Linked DNA regions of Homo sapiens: regions 1 and 3 are each linked to region 2. Evidence: promoter capture Hi-C in human tissues and cell types (Jung and others, 2019). All regions are on one chromosome and are shown on one strand. Each heading gives the region's core, a stretch centred on a gene start or on the middle of the fragment in contact. The rest is flanking DNA. Distances are from core to core; before and after follow the strand shown.

Evidence for each region. The method cuts DNA at HindIII sites, captures the fragments that hold promoters and counts their contacts. A contact is called where the count stands out against the background at its distance.
Region 1: a contact is called between the fragment with the promoter of PTGIR here and a fragment that was not itself captured in region 2, in 3 of the 25 tissues and cell types used here (dorsolateral prefrontal cortex, spleen and stomach).
Region 3: a contact is called between the fragment with the promoter of CALM3 here and a fragment that was not itself captured in region 2, in 1 of the 25 tissues and cell types used here (bladder).

Annotation. Positions count from the first base shown.
Region 1 is chr19:46,623,711-46,627,624 of GRCh38, forward strand. It overlaps PTGIR (prostaglandin I2 receptor), which reads right to left and starts at 1,379. Exons shown (of 3, transcript NM_000960.4): 1 at 1,287-1,379; 2 at 1-527. The coding sequence starts at 515. RefSeq lists an enhancer at 1,594-2,094. The HindIII fragment of the contact is 28,599 bases long and covers 1-3,914 here.
Region 2 is chr19:47,101,541-47,105,142 of GRCh38, forward strand. All of the region lies in intron 2 of ZC3H4 (zinc finger CCCH-type containing 4), which reads right to left. Among named protein-coding and RNA genes, the nearest start is that of ZC3H4, 10 kb to the right of the region's middle. The HindIII fragment of the contact is 3,344 bases long and covers 1-3,143 here.
Region 3 is chr19:46,599,687-46,603,442 of GRCh38, forward strand. It overlaps CALM3 (calmodulin 3), which reads left to right and starts at 1,644. Exons shown (of 6, transcript NM_005184.4): 1 at 1,644-1,751. The coding sequence starts at 1,749. It also overlaps the pseudogene PPP5D1P. RefSeq lists enhancers at 909-1,408, 3,137-3,206 and a silencer at 1,539-1,678. The HindIII fragment of the contact is 7,591 bases long and covers 1-2,650 here.

The DNA of each region.
Region 1 (3,914 bases), core at 129-2,628, 480 kb before region 2:
AGGAAGCACCAGCTGCCGGGGCAGTACTGCTGGTGTTGGCCCAGGCCCAGCAGGGGCAGCGCGCAGAAGAGGACGCAGAAGGCGTAGATGGCTGGCAGCGCCAGGCGGGCGCAGCGGGGCCCGTCCAGCTGCGCGTAGAGGTAGGGGTGGCTCAGCGCCAGGCAGCGCTCCACGGCCATGGCAAAGAGGATGAGCATGGACGCCAGGCCGAAGAAGGTCATGGCGAAGGCGAAGGCATCGCACAGGGCGGGGCCGCCTCGGGCCAGGCCCAGCAGGGAGCTGTTGCGCGCATAGGCCACGAACACGGCCGGGCTCAGGAAGCTGGTGCCCAGCAGGTCGGTGGCCGCCAGTCCGGTCACCAGCACCGCGAAGGCCGAGGGGCGCGCCGGTCGCCGTGCGCTCAGGATGCCCAGGGCCAGCCCGTTGCCCACCACACCGGCCACGAACATCAGGGTGCTGGTGGCCGGCCCCACCGAGCCCCGCACGTAGGTGAGGTTCCTGCACGAATCCGCCATCCCAGGTCTGGGCTGGAGGGTTCCCAAGGTGGGGGGTCAGAGGGAGCCAGGGCTACCCCCACCACCCAGCCCACTCAGATGTCCCTGCTGGCCAGTCCTTTTGGCAGCTGGGGCCTCCCAGCCAACCCCCAGTTCTCCTGTGTGTGCGGGTATGCAGTCCTCTCCCCTCTGGCTTCTCCAGTATCTCTCTCTGTCTCTCCCCACCTTCCTGTTTCTCTTTCTCTCTTTCTTTTCTTTCGTTTCTTTTGAGACAGAGTCTCACTCTGTTGTCCAGGATGGAGAGCAATGGCATGATCTCGGCTCACTGCAACCTCCACCTCCTGGGTTCAAGCGATTCTCCTGCCCCAGCCTCTGGAGTAGATGAGATTACAGGCGTCCACTACCACGCCCAGCTAATTTTTGTATTTTCAGTAGAGACGGGGTTCCACCATGTTGGTCAGGCTGGTCTCGAACTCCTGACCTCAGGTGATCCATCCACCTTGGCTTCCCAAAGTGCTGAGATTACAGGTGTGAGCCACCATGCCTGACACCCACCACCCCCCCACCACCTCCTGTTTCTTTCCTTCTCTAGCTCTGTTTCTGCCATTAAAGAGACAGAGAACATCCGGGCATTGCCAGTTCTTTCCCTCCCTGTCTCTCGGTCTCTTGCTGATATCTCCCTGTCTCTGTCCCCTCCCTTGTCCTTGTCCTCCCCGTACCTTTCTCCCTCTAACCCCACACCCTCTACCTGCTCCTGCTCTGTGTTGCTGCATCCCCAGCCCCTCACCGCACCTCTCCAGTCTTGCCCAGGCTCTCCTGTCCCGTGCGTCTGTGCCTTCACTTGCTTTGCTCCTCGTGTCTCTCGCTGCCTGTGTCGGTCTGTGTGTCAGCTTCTCCTTCCCTCCTCCCTCCGTCCCTCCCTCCTTCCCACCCTCCTCAGCTTGCCTGCTCACCCCAGCTTTTTCATTTCCTCTCTCTGCCCCGCCCTCCCTCACTGTTCTCCAGAGGGCCCCCTGGCACACTCCCCACTCCCCGTCCACCCGCCCAATCCAGGACATCCATCTCCCATCGCTGCCTCCACTCTCCTCCCCACATCCTCTCTTGGTTCCCATCACTGAGCCACCTGCCACCTCCCCACACACAGGTCTCCTCCCTCCCCCAGTGTCTCCCTCTCTGGCCTGGGTGGGGAATTCCTGAGTCACCATCACTTAGGCTTGGAGCCTCCCGGGGTAGTAGGGGGCCTCTAGGAGGGACCTGAAGAGCACAGTTGACCAGGCTTCAGTGGGGTGGTCTTGGCCTGGGCTGTCTCAGGGTGGCCTCTGGGATCTATTCTGGGCTCCAGGCCCCGGGGCTGAGGACATTGCCCAGGGATTGAGAAATGACCAGGAAATTCCTCTCTGATGTAGTGTTTTCCAGACACCACTGAGAGTTCTGGTCCCTGGACACAATTCACTCCTTCCAGAAAGCTGAGGAAGGAGGCTTGGCCAGAGAGAGACATGCCAGTCCCTCGAGCCTGTCCCTGGGCACCCAGCTCACCCTGCAGAGACCCGAGAAGAAAGCATGAAGGGGTGTATTTGGTGTCCAGTTGTCAGGGACAGGCTTGGGAGACTTCCATGGCCCATGATGGAAAGGTAGCACTGGGCCACCGTCCGACTTCTCGCACAGCACCCCTAGGCCCCAGGCCAAGCTCTGGTGACCTTGACCTTCAGGAATCATATTTTGATCACAGGAAGCTGTCCACAGCTCCAACATTGCTGCCATGTGTCCCCCACCCTCCCCAAACACAGCCAAGCCACCACCGCTGCAGCCTCGGGCCAGTGTGACAGACCCACATGTTCCCGCTACCCGCACAGCGTTCACGGGTCTCCCTTCCCACGGAGTCGGTGGCTTCCCAGGCAGCCTCCCAGCCCAAAAGGGCCAGATAAAACCTCAGAGACCCTCTCTGAGCCCCGCTGTTTCTCAGGGGGACGGTCTCAGATCCATTCGACTTGGCTTCCTGTTTCCATCTGACCACCTTTTTTCTTGCTGCGAGATGGTCCCAGGTGAGGAGAGGGAGCTGGTAGACTTCAGCCTCCTTCTCTGTGCGTGGGGTAACACGGGCCTCAGGGACCTGGTGGCCAGCCTCGGCCTGCAGCACATCCCAGATTGGTCTTTGTAACAAGGAGAGAGGCTGTGCGGGTGTCTCTTGTCCAAGGCCAGGAGGGATGTGTCCAACCCAAGGACTGGACTGTGGGCAGCTGCCGTCTTGCCCTCTGTACCCCGGTGTGTGACCACAACCCCTTTGCCCCTCCCCCCCATCTCCCTATCACCCTTGCCCAGCTGGCACCCGCAGCTTCCAGCAGGATGGACGCCCAAGTTCCAGCCCCACCGTGGCTCCCTAAGGGACCCCCCAGCCCTGCTCTGGGGGTGCCTGTACATGTGGGCTCCAGGTCCTGCCACGTTGTCCCGCCTCATGCCGTGAGGTCCCCAGACAGACCAGAGGGAACTCAGGAAGTTATATCATATTAATGAAGGATGATGCCTGGCAGGCGTGCATCTTGTTTCGGCATCGGGGGGGCCTCTGGTTCCCGGAGACTCCCTCTCTCGCTTCCTGTTACAAGGACGGTTAACATTCAGGAAGTCCCCTCTGCTCCCATGCCCAGTGGGACCACAGTCAAACCCTTGTCCCTTCCAGGCCTCAGTTTCTTTTTTGTTGTTGTTTTTCTTTTTGCTTGTTTGTTTTTGTTTTGAGATGGAATCTTGCTCTGTCACCCAGGCTGGAGTACACTGGCATGATCTCAGCTCACTGCAACCTCCGCCTCCCGGGTTCAAGCGACTCTCGTGCCTCAGCCTCCCGAGTAGCTGGGATTACAGGCATGTGCCACTGCGCCCAATTTTTATATTTTTAGTAGAGGTGGGGTTTCACCATGTTGGCCAGGCTGGTCTTGAACGCCTGACCTCAGGTGATCCGCCCGCCTCGGCCTCCCATAGTGCTGGGATTACAGGCGTGAACCACCTTGCCTGGCTGTTCGTTTGTTTTTGAGACAGGGTCTTGCTCTGTCACCCAGGCTGGAGTGTAGTGCTGCAATCTCGGTTCACTGCAACCTCTACCTCTGGGGTTCAAGCGATCCTCCCACCTCAGCCTCCTGAGTAGCTGGGACTACAGGCACCCACTGCCACGCTAGCTAATTTTTGTATTTTTGTAAAGACAGGGTTTCACTGTGTCACCCAGGCTGGTCTCAAACTCCTGGACTCAAGTGATCTGCCTACCTCGGCTTCCCAAAGTGCTGGGATTATAGGCCACCACGCCTGGCCTCAGGCCTCAGTTTCCCCGCCGATGCCACTAGGAGTCATGAGCCCTCGCAACCCCAGGATCGGTTCTGTGTTCCTGCATCAGGAGCAGGTAGGGGTGGCAGTGACTGTGACTCCCTCCTAATGAGG
Region 2 (3,602 bases), core at 222-2,721:
TAAAAAAAATTTTTTTTCCATAATAAAAAGTTAAGAAAGAAAAAAGTTCTGGCCAGGTACGGTGGCTCATGCCAGTAATCCCAGCACTTTGGGAGGCTGAGGCGGGCGGATCACTAGATCAGGAGTTCGAGACCAGCCTGACCAACGTGGAGAAACCCCATCTCTACTAAAAATACAAAAATTAGCTGGGCGTGGTGGCGCACGACTGTAATCCCAGCTACTCAGGAGGCTGAGGCAGGAGAATCACTTGAACCTGGGAGGCAGAGGTTGCAATGAGCGATCGCACCACTGCACTCCAGCCTGGGCAACAGAGCAAGACTCTGTCTCGAAAAAAAAAAAAAAAATTAGCCGGGCATGGTGGCACACGCCTGTAGTCCCAGCTACTTGGGAGACTGAGGCAGGAGAATTGCTTGAACCCATGAGGTGGAGGTTGCAGTAAGCTGAGACCATGCCATTGCACTCCAGCCTGGGTGACAGATTGAGACTTCGTCTCAAAAAAAAAGAAAAAGAAAACAAGAACTTCCAAGTGGGACAACTCAGCAATGTGAGGAGAGGCTGCAAGGTCCCCAAGCAGTTATTTAATAATTTCCCAGCAGAGAGCTGGAATCTGGGCTTGCAGGCCTCCACACTCCTCACCAAGGCCTAAACAGGCTCAGAGACAAGAAGGAATTTGCCCATGGGGTCACAGCAGGAAGAAGCAGAACTAGAAACTAAGTCCAGTACTTTTGGATGCAAAGACCAGCTCTTAACCTCTACAAATTATTTGACAACTACAAATTATGTCAAAAAGAGTAATTTGCTAAACAGGTCAACTGACAAAACAACGCCCACCCTGAAATGTATAATCGAGTAGGGAAAAATAAGATATACATACATAAAACAGACTTCATGAATCAGTATTCCAAGAAATGCCAGAATGAGGTACCAAGACTTTGGGCAAATTCCTTAAACACTCTGCACCCCAGTCTCCATAACTGTGCAGCACAGGCAACCATGGAGTCCCCAGGATGGTGTCATGGGAGAATCCCATGAGGCCATGTAACACAAGCACTTAGCAGGAACCTTGCCCAGAATAAATGCTTAGGAGTAAAACCTACCCAAACACAAAGACACAAGGCCGATACGGTCCTTCCAATATCAAGTGAAGGAAATGGTAGCATTTCAAAAACCTAACCAAAGACATCTGGATAGAGAATAAGGGCTCATGGAAAGACCGAAGGAATTCTGGCAAAAAAAAAAAAAAAATAGGACTCATCCCAACACAAAGAGAAAGCAATACAAAAATCCCAGGGAGTGAAATTCCAAAGTCCCCTAATATGAAACGAATGCCTTCGCCCCCAAGTGTGCAGTGTCCACTCTGGGGTTTGTCCAAGCATGCAAACCACTTAGGCAGAACATTTCTGTAAAGCTTCAAACAGGCTGACCGTGAAAAAACCCAGCCTGCTAAAAGGAAGCTTGTGGAGACAAAGATGCCATTTTTTTTGCCTGAGTATCTATTCTTCCACTCCCACGAGCTCTGAAAATTTGCATTCTTGAGCAAAGGTATCTATCCCTCAGATCCAAGTTACTCCTGGCAGATGAACCTCTGGAATTTGCTTCTCAGCAATGAAGAGTTTTCTAACCACCTTCTCATGCCAACTAAGCTTCAGATGGTTTAAAGCTGCAAAGATCATGGTTTTCATCAGAGGACCGATTTCTATCACTCCAGAGGAGAAAGTCTAATAATTTAACTTATGAACTAAGACTTCTCTTTGTTTATAATTATTTATTTATTTATTTCTACACAGGGTCTTGCTCTGTCACCCAGGCTGGAGTGCAGTGGTGTGATCATTGGTTCAATGCAGCCTTGATCTCCTGGGCTCAAGCAATCTTCCCACGTCAGCCTCCCAAGTAGATGGGACTACAAGCATGCACCACCATGCCCAGCTAATTTTTGTATTTTTTGTAGAGACAGGGTTTCAGGCCGGGCGCAGTGGCTCATACCTGTAATCTCATTACTTTGGGAGGACAAGGCAGGCAGATCACTTGAGATCAGGAGTTCGAGACCAGCCTGGCCAACATGGTAAAACCCTGTCTCCACTAAAAATATAAAAATCAGCCCGTTGGCCGGGCACAGTGGCTCATGCCTGTAATCCCAGCACTTTGGGAGGACGAGGCGGGCGGATCACGAGGTCAGGAGATTTAGACCATCTGGGCTAACATGGTGAAACCCCGTCTCTACTAAAAAAAAAAAAAAAAAAAAACTACAAAAAAATAAGCCAGGCGTGGTGGCAGGCGCCTGTAGTCCCAGCTACTCAGGAGGCTGAGGCAGGAGAATGGCATGAACCCGGGAGGCAGAGCTTGCAGTGAGCTGAAATCGTGCCACTGCACTCCGGCCTGGGTGAAAGAGCGAGACTCCGTCTTAAAAAATATGTAAAAATAAAAATAAACAAATAAATAAGAGATCTGGGCCTAAGATTCTTGAGATTTGTTCATATACCACCTAAAGAATTTCTTAGCCAGGCGCAGTGGCTCACGCCTGTAATCCCAGCACTTTGGGAGGCCAAGACAGGTGGATCACCTGAGGTCAGTAGTTCAAGACCAGCCTGGCCAACATGGTAAAACCCCATCTCTACTAAAAACACAAAAATTAGCTGGGTGTGGTGGCGCACACCTGTAATCCCAACTACTCAGGAGGCTGAGGCAGGAGAATCGCTTGAACCCAGGAGGCAGAGGTTGCAGTGAGCTGAGATCATGCCATTGCACTCCAGCCTACGTGACAGAGTAAGACTCTGTCTAAAATAATAATAATAATAATTTCTTAAAAAGAACTGATACAACCTATTCGTTAATTTCTAGTCACCTGTGGGTTCCTTAAGGGCAGACAAGAATGAGGTTCACAGTAACCCCACATTTCCAAGGGCCCAGCACAGGGCCAGGTACAGATTGGGTACATGCTCAGTGCATATTCTATATGAAGTATCAATCTCAGCTCTCATACCCTTTTGGTCAATTTCATCAATAGAAACAGTAACTAATTTCCAAGAAAACTTTTTCAGCAACCTGTATCACTTAAAACTTTGACACAAACTCATTCAAGTGTTTATCAAGGGTTTCCAAATAAGCTTGAAAGTGATGGATGCACAGACTGAACAGAGGAGACAGGCCCTGCCTCGGATGCAGCCCACCCGTGTGGCCCACAAGCTTCAGTTACTGTGACTGCTCTCGTTCCCCGTGGAGTGGCAGGGCCTGCCTGGAATCCCAAGGAAACCTAAGCCCTGGTGTCTGTTAGGAAAATGAGGAGGGCAATAATCCAAGCCACCTGCAACAGACTTTTGGCCAAGCGACACTAGCGTCTGGGCCCAGCTCCCTCGGTTAGGCCATAGCAGGGATGTAATGGCCATGATCCACTTCCACACGGGACCTCAAGAAGTCTCCAGTTACTTCTAATGAATGAAAATCCCTTCCATTTAAGAGGGTTTAAAAGCCTAGGCTTGGGCCTCTACATTCACTGAAAGGAGTGGAACGCAGGGAGAATGGAGCCACAGTGGACTGAGGAAACAGTTAACACCCCCACCCTCTCGAGGGCCAACTTTAAATGGAATATCTATATTCCCTCCTCA
Region 3 (3,756 bases), core at 394-2,893, 500 kb before region 2:
GAGCCAAGATCATGCCACTGCACTCTAGCCTATGTGACAGAGCAAGACTCCGTCTCAAAAAAAATACAGATCTTGTGTGAACTAACAGAATAAGAACTCACTTGTTACCGTGAGGACAGCACCAAGTCATTCATGAGGGATCCACCCCTATGACCCAAACACCTCCCACCAGGCCCCACCTCCAACATTGGTGATCACATTTTAACATGAGATTTGAGACTGAGTAACAAGTGTTAGGATTAAAGGCATGAGCCACCGCGCCCGGCCATCTTCTTTACCTCTCCACTGTGTCAGTTTTATTTTTCTCTTCTTCTCTAGACACTTTGTTCCTCAAGATAGGGGGCAGAGTGGGAAAATGACCATAGTCAGAATCTATGGGAAGGACCCACCCAAAAGGAAAAGGCTTCTTGTGCCCAGGCTGCAGATCCAAACCCCAGGGAAGGACTCTCATTGGTTCAGTCTCCATTCTGTTCCAGGTGGAGCATAATGATTGGTCCAGCCTGACTCGTTTGCCCATCTCTTAACCATCAACATGGTGGGGAGGGGACACGCAGGAGACTGTCAGCTCCTATCCTAAACGGGGGAGGGGGCAGGGGTGATCATTTTCTGAGCTCCTATAAACAAAGTTTCAGTTCTTTTTCCTCCTATGGCTGGAACACTGGAATAAGGAAAGAGGTCGTCTGTCTGGAGAGGCTGGTTGGGGAGTATGGTCTCCCCAGCCCAGCCAAGCTCAGGTCCCTGCATACAGCAGGCGCCTAATTGATGCTTATAGCACGAATGACTGAATGAATACCCCGTTCCCACAGGCTGTCCTGGGATGGTCCTAATTTCACAGACCCTGAGCGGATCAAGAATGAAGCGGGCCCAGGGGTCCCGCCCACCGGCTGAGTGCGTCTTAGGACGCAGAGACAAGACCACGGAGGGCGGAACCTCTGAGCGTTAGGTGGCACCTTGGAGACCCCGCCACCTCCAAAGGCCCAGTTAGGGGCGGAGCTTCTAAACCCTAGCATTTTGGATTGAACCATCGTCCGTCGGTTAAAGGGGAGAGCCGAGAAAGCCCTTCTGCATTTGTCGCCAGCCTTTTTACCACCTCCTGGCCACAGAAACGACGTATTTGCTTCTCTAACGGCGACGCCGTTTCCCCCTTCGCCTCGTTACTCCTCAAAGCCCCACGCGGCCACAGAGTTCAGACTTACCCACCACCACCTTGCAGTGGCTCGCCCCAGTTTGACGCATTGCAGGGAAGGTCGGACCAATGGGCGCCAAGCTCTCATTTCCGCCATGGGCCAGGCCCAATAGTGACGCGGCTCACAGAGGGACGCGTCACGCACCGCCGAGCTGTGCCCCTCCGCCGAAGAAAGTGAAGTGGGCCCGGGAGGCGGGGCGCGCGGCGAGGGAAAGTAGTCCGGCGACGGGAGCGAGCGCGCGCGCGCCCGGCGGCAAACCCAATTCCTGTGCAGGGTGGGGACGAGAGATTCGCGGGCCCGTAGGTGTGGAGCGGGGCGCGGAGGGATCCGTGGGAGCCGCAGTGCGGCGGCGCGCGGGCCGGGTGGGGCGGGGCCGAGCGAGGCGGGGCGCGCGCGGCGGCCGTTGAGGGACCGTTGGGGCGGGAGGCGGCGGCGGCGGCGGCGCGCGCTGCGGGCAGTGAGTGTGGAGGCGCGGACGCGCGGCGGAGCTGGAACTGCTGCAGCTGCTGCCGCCGCCGGAGGAACCTTGATCCCCGTGCTCCGGACACCCCGGGCCTCGCCATGGTGAGTGAGGCTGGGGGGTCGCCGAGGCTGCGGGCTCTGAGGCGGGCTTAACGGGGCAGGACCCCTGAGGGGGCGACAGAGCCCAGAGTGGGGGGCGTCCGGGCCCGGCGAGAGCCTCGGGACCCTTTTCTACCCGCGTTGTCGGGGGCTGTTGAACCCAGAGCGGGACGTCTGGATCACCAGAGGTTTCCAGAAGCGACTTTAGCACCAAATGGGATGTTTAAGTCCACAAATGGGTATCTGAGCCCCTAAAGGGGACATTTGAACCCCGGATGGAGGATCGGGACCCTCAGTGGGACCCCTCAAAAGGATTTTGGACCCAGGATGGGGCGTTGGGTTTCAGGATGGAGGTGTTTGGACCCCAGGGGACGAAATAAGAAAGATGGGCTGGGGAGGGGAGCTATTCGGGCCCTGATGAAGGCGTTTGGTCCTGAGAGGATGCGGGGAACGGGGGACGAAGGGAGGCTGGGCTGCTCCTGGATGGGGTGGTGGAGGGTAGCTGGGCCCGGGCGGGGAGGGGCGACCCCTGGGCTCCTGTGGAGCAGAGGAGAGGGTCAAGGATGGGCGGTCACTTCTACAGATGAGACTCCCGAGGGTGGGGGAGGGTGGGGGAGGGTGGTCTCCAGAGCCCAGCACTGCAGAGGAGGAGGAGGGTGAGGTGCAAGCTTATGGGAGGAAGAGCCTGGGGTGGGTGGCAGCGGAGATTAGAAGATACTCTTGAAGGCTTCCGGGACGGAGAAGGATCAGGGTCGTGGAGGTGGTGAAAAGGGATGGTGAGAGTGGGGCTCGCCAGTAGTCGGGGGACAGGGACCCTTGGGGTTAATTTGGAAGTAGCTAGAAAAGGTTCCGAGGTTACTAGTGGGTTAAGACTGTTGCTCTAGAAAGACAGAATTTTTTTAACGGGGTGGGAGTGTTGTGTTTGGGTCCAAGAGAAGATGGATTTCCAAGGTGAGGGGTGGGGGAGGACTTGGGCTTGGGTGGTTGGGAGGTGAGGTGGAAGGAGAAAATGAATGGCAGTCAGGGGGGCCTAGGTTTGGGGGTGGATGTGGGTAGCACCCTGCCAGTCTCCAGGGACAGGCCAGGACAAAGACGGCTCAGTGTGGATGGGGAGTGGGCTGCAGGGCCCGGAGGAAGCTTTTCTACCGTCCTCCTTCCTCAGGAAGAACGCGGCTGGGTGGAAGACACCGGGGCAGTGGGAGCAGGTGGGCGGAGCTGTTCGGGCCCCTATTGCGCACTGAAGCCTCATGAAATGGGGATGGGAGATCAAAGTTTGGGGTGCCTCGAATGAGCCAGCTTTTTCAAGCCTAGAAGCCTCACTCTGTCGCTGCCCTTTTCAGGCCAAGAGCACTGCCTTTTCCCAGCAGGAGCGCCGGTTTTCTCATGATCCCCAGCCCCACGCACCATGCTGCACCTCGTCACTTGTGCCAAATGACAGTGCAGTACAGTGTGGCGTCAGTGACAATCAGATGCCTATTCCCGTGCCCTCGGGGTGGGGGCTGCAGAGCTTGATCAGAGAGTGCCTCTGGGGAGACCCCTTGATCGGCCTGAGGGCCACTTGTTCCATTCAGGGCCCTCGCTGAGCGTGTCTGTTAATTCACAGGGCTTTGAGAGAAAACCAGCAGACTAGTTCTTTCCTACTCCCTGCCACCCACAACACCCACAGCCCCACCAGGCTGAGCCTGGGAACCGTGTGCAGCCATCCTCCCTGGCAAGGCTGGGGAGAACAGGCAGCCGCTGCTGTGTATCAGATCTCATACTTGCTGACACAGACCTGATGGCTCCTCTTGCCGCTACCCCATTTTCCCCCAGCAGAACCTGGCTAAAAGGGGCCCTGAAGCACTAGCAGGCCCCCTACCTCCAGAATAGGACCCAAGCTTTGGCCACAACTAGTTTCTCTTTCTGTTTGTAATCAGCAAGGTAGAGGTGGGACAAGTCACTGGTAACTGGCCTTGGACTTTGGCCTGAGCTCTGTGGCTCCTCCTTGGCCCGGGTGAGGGGCCCTGGC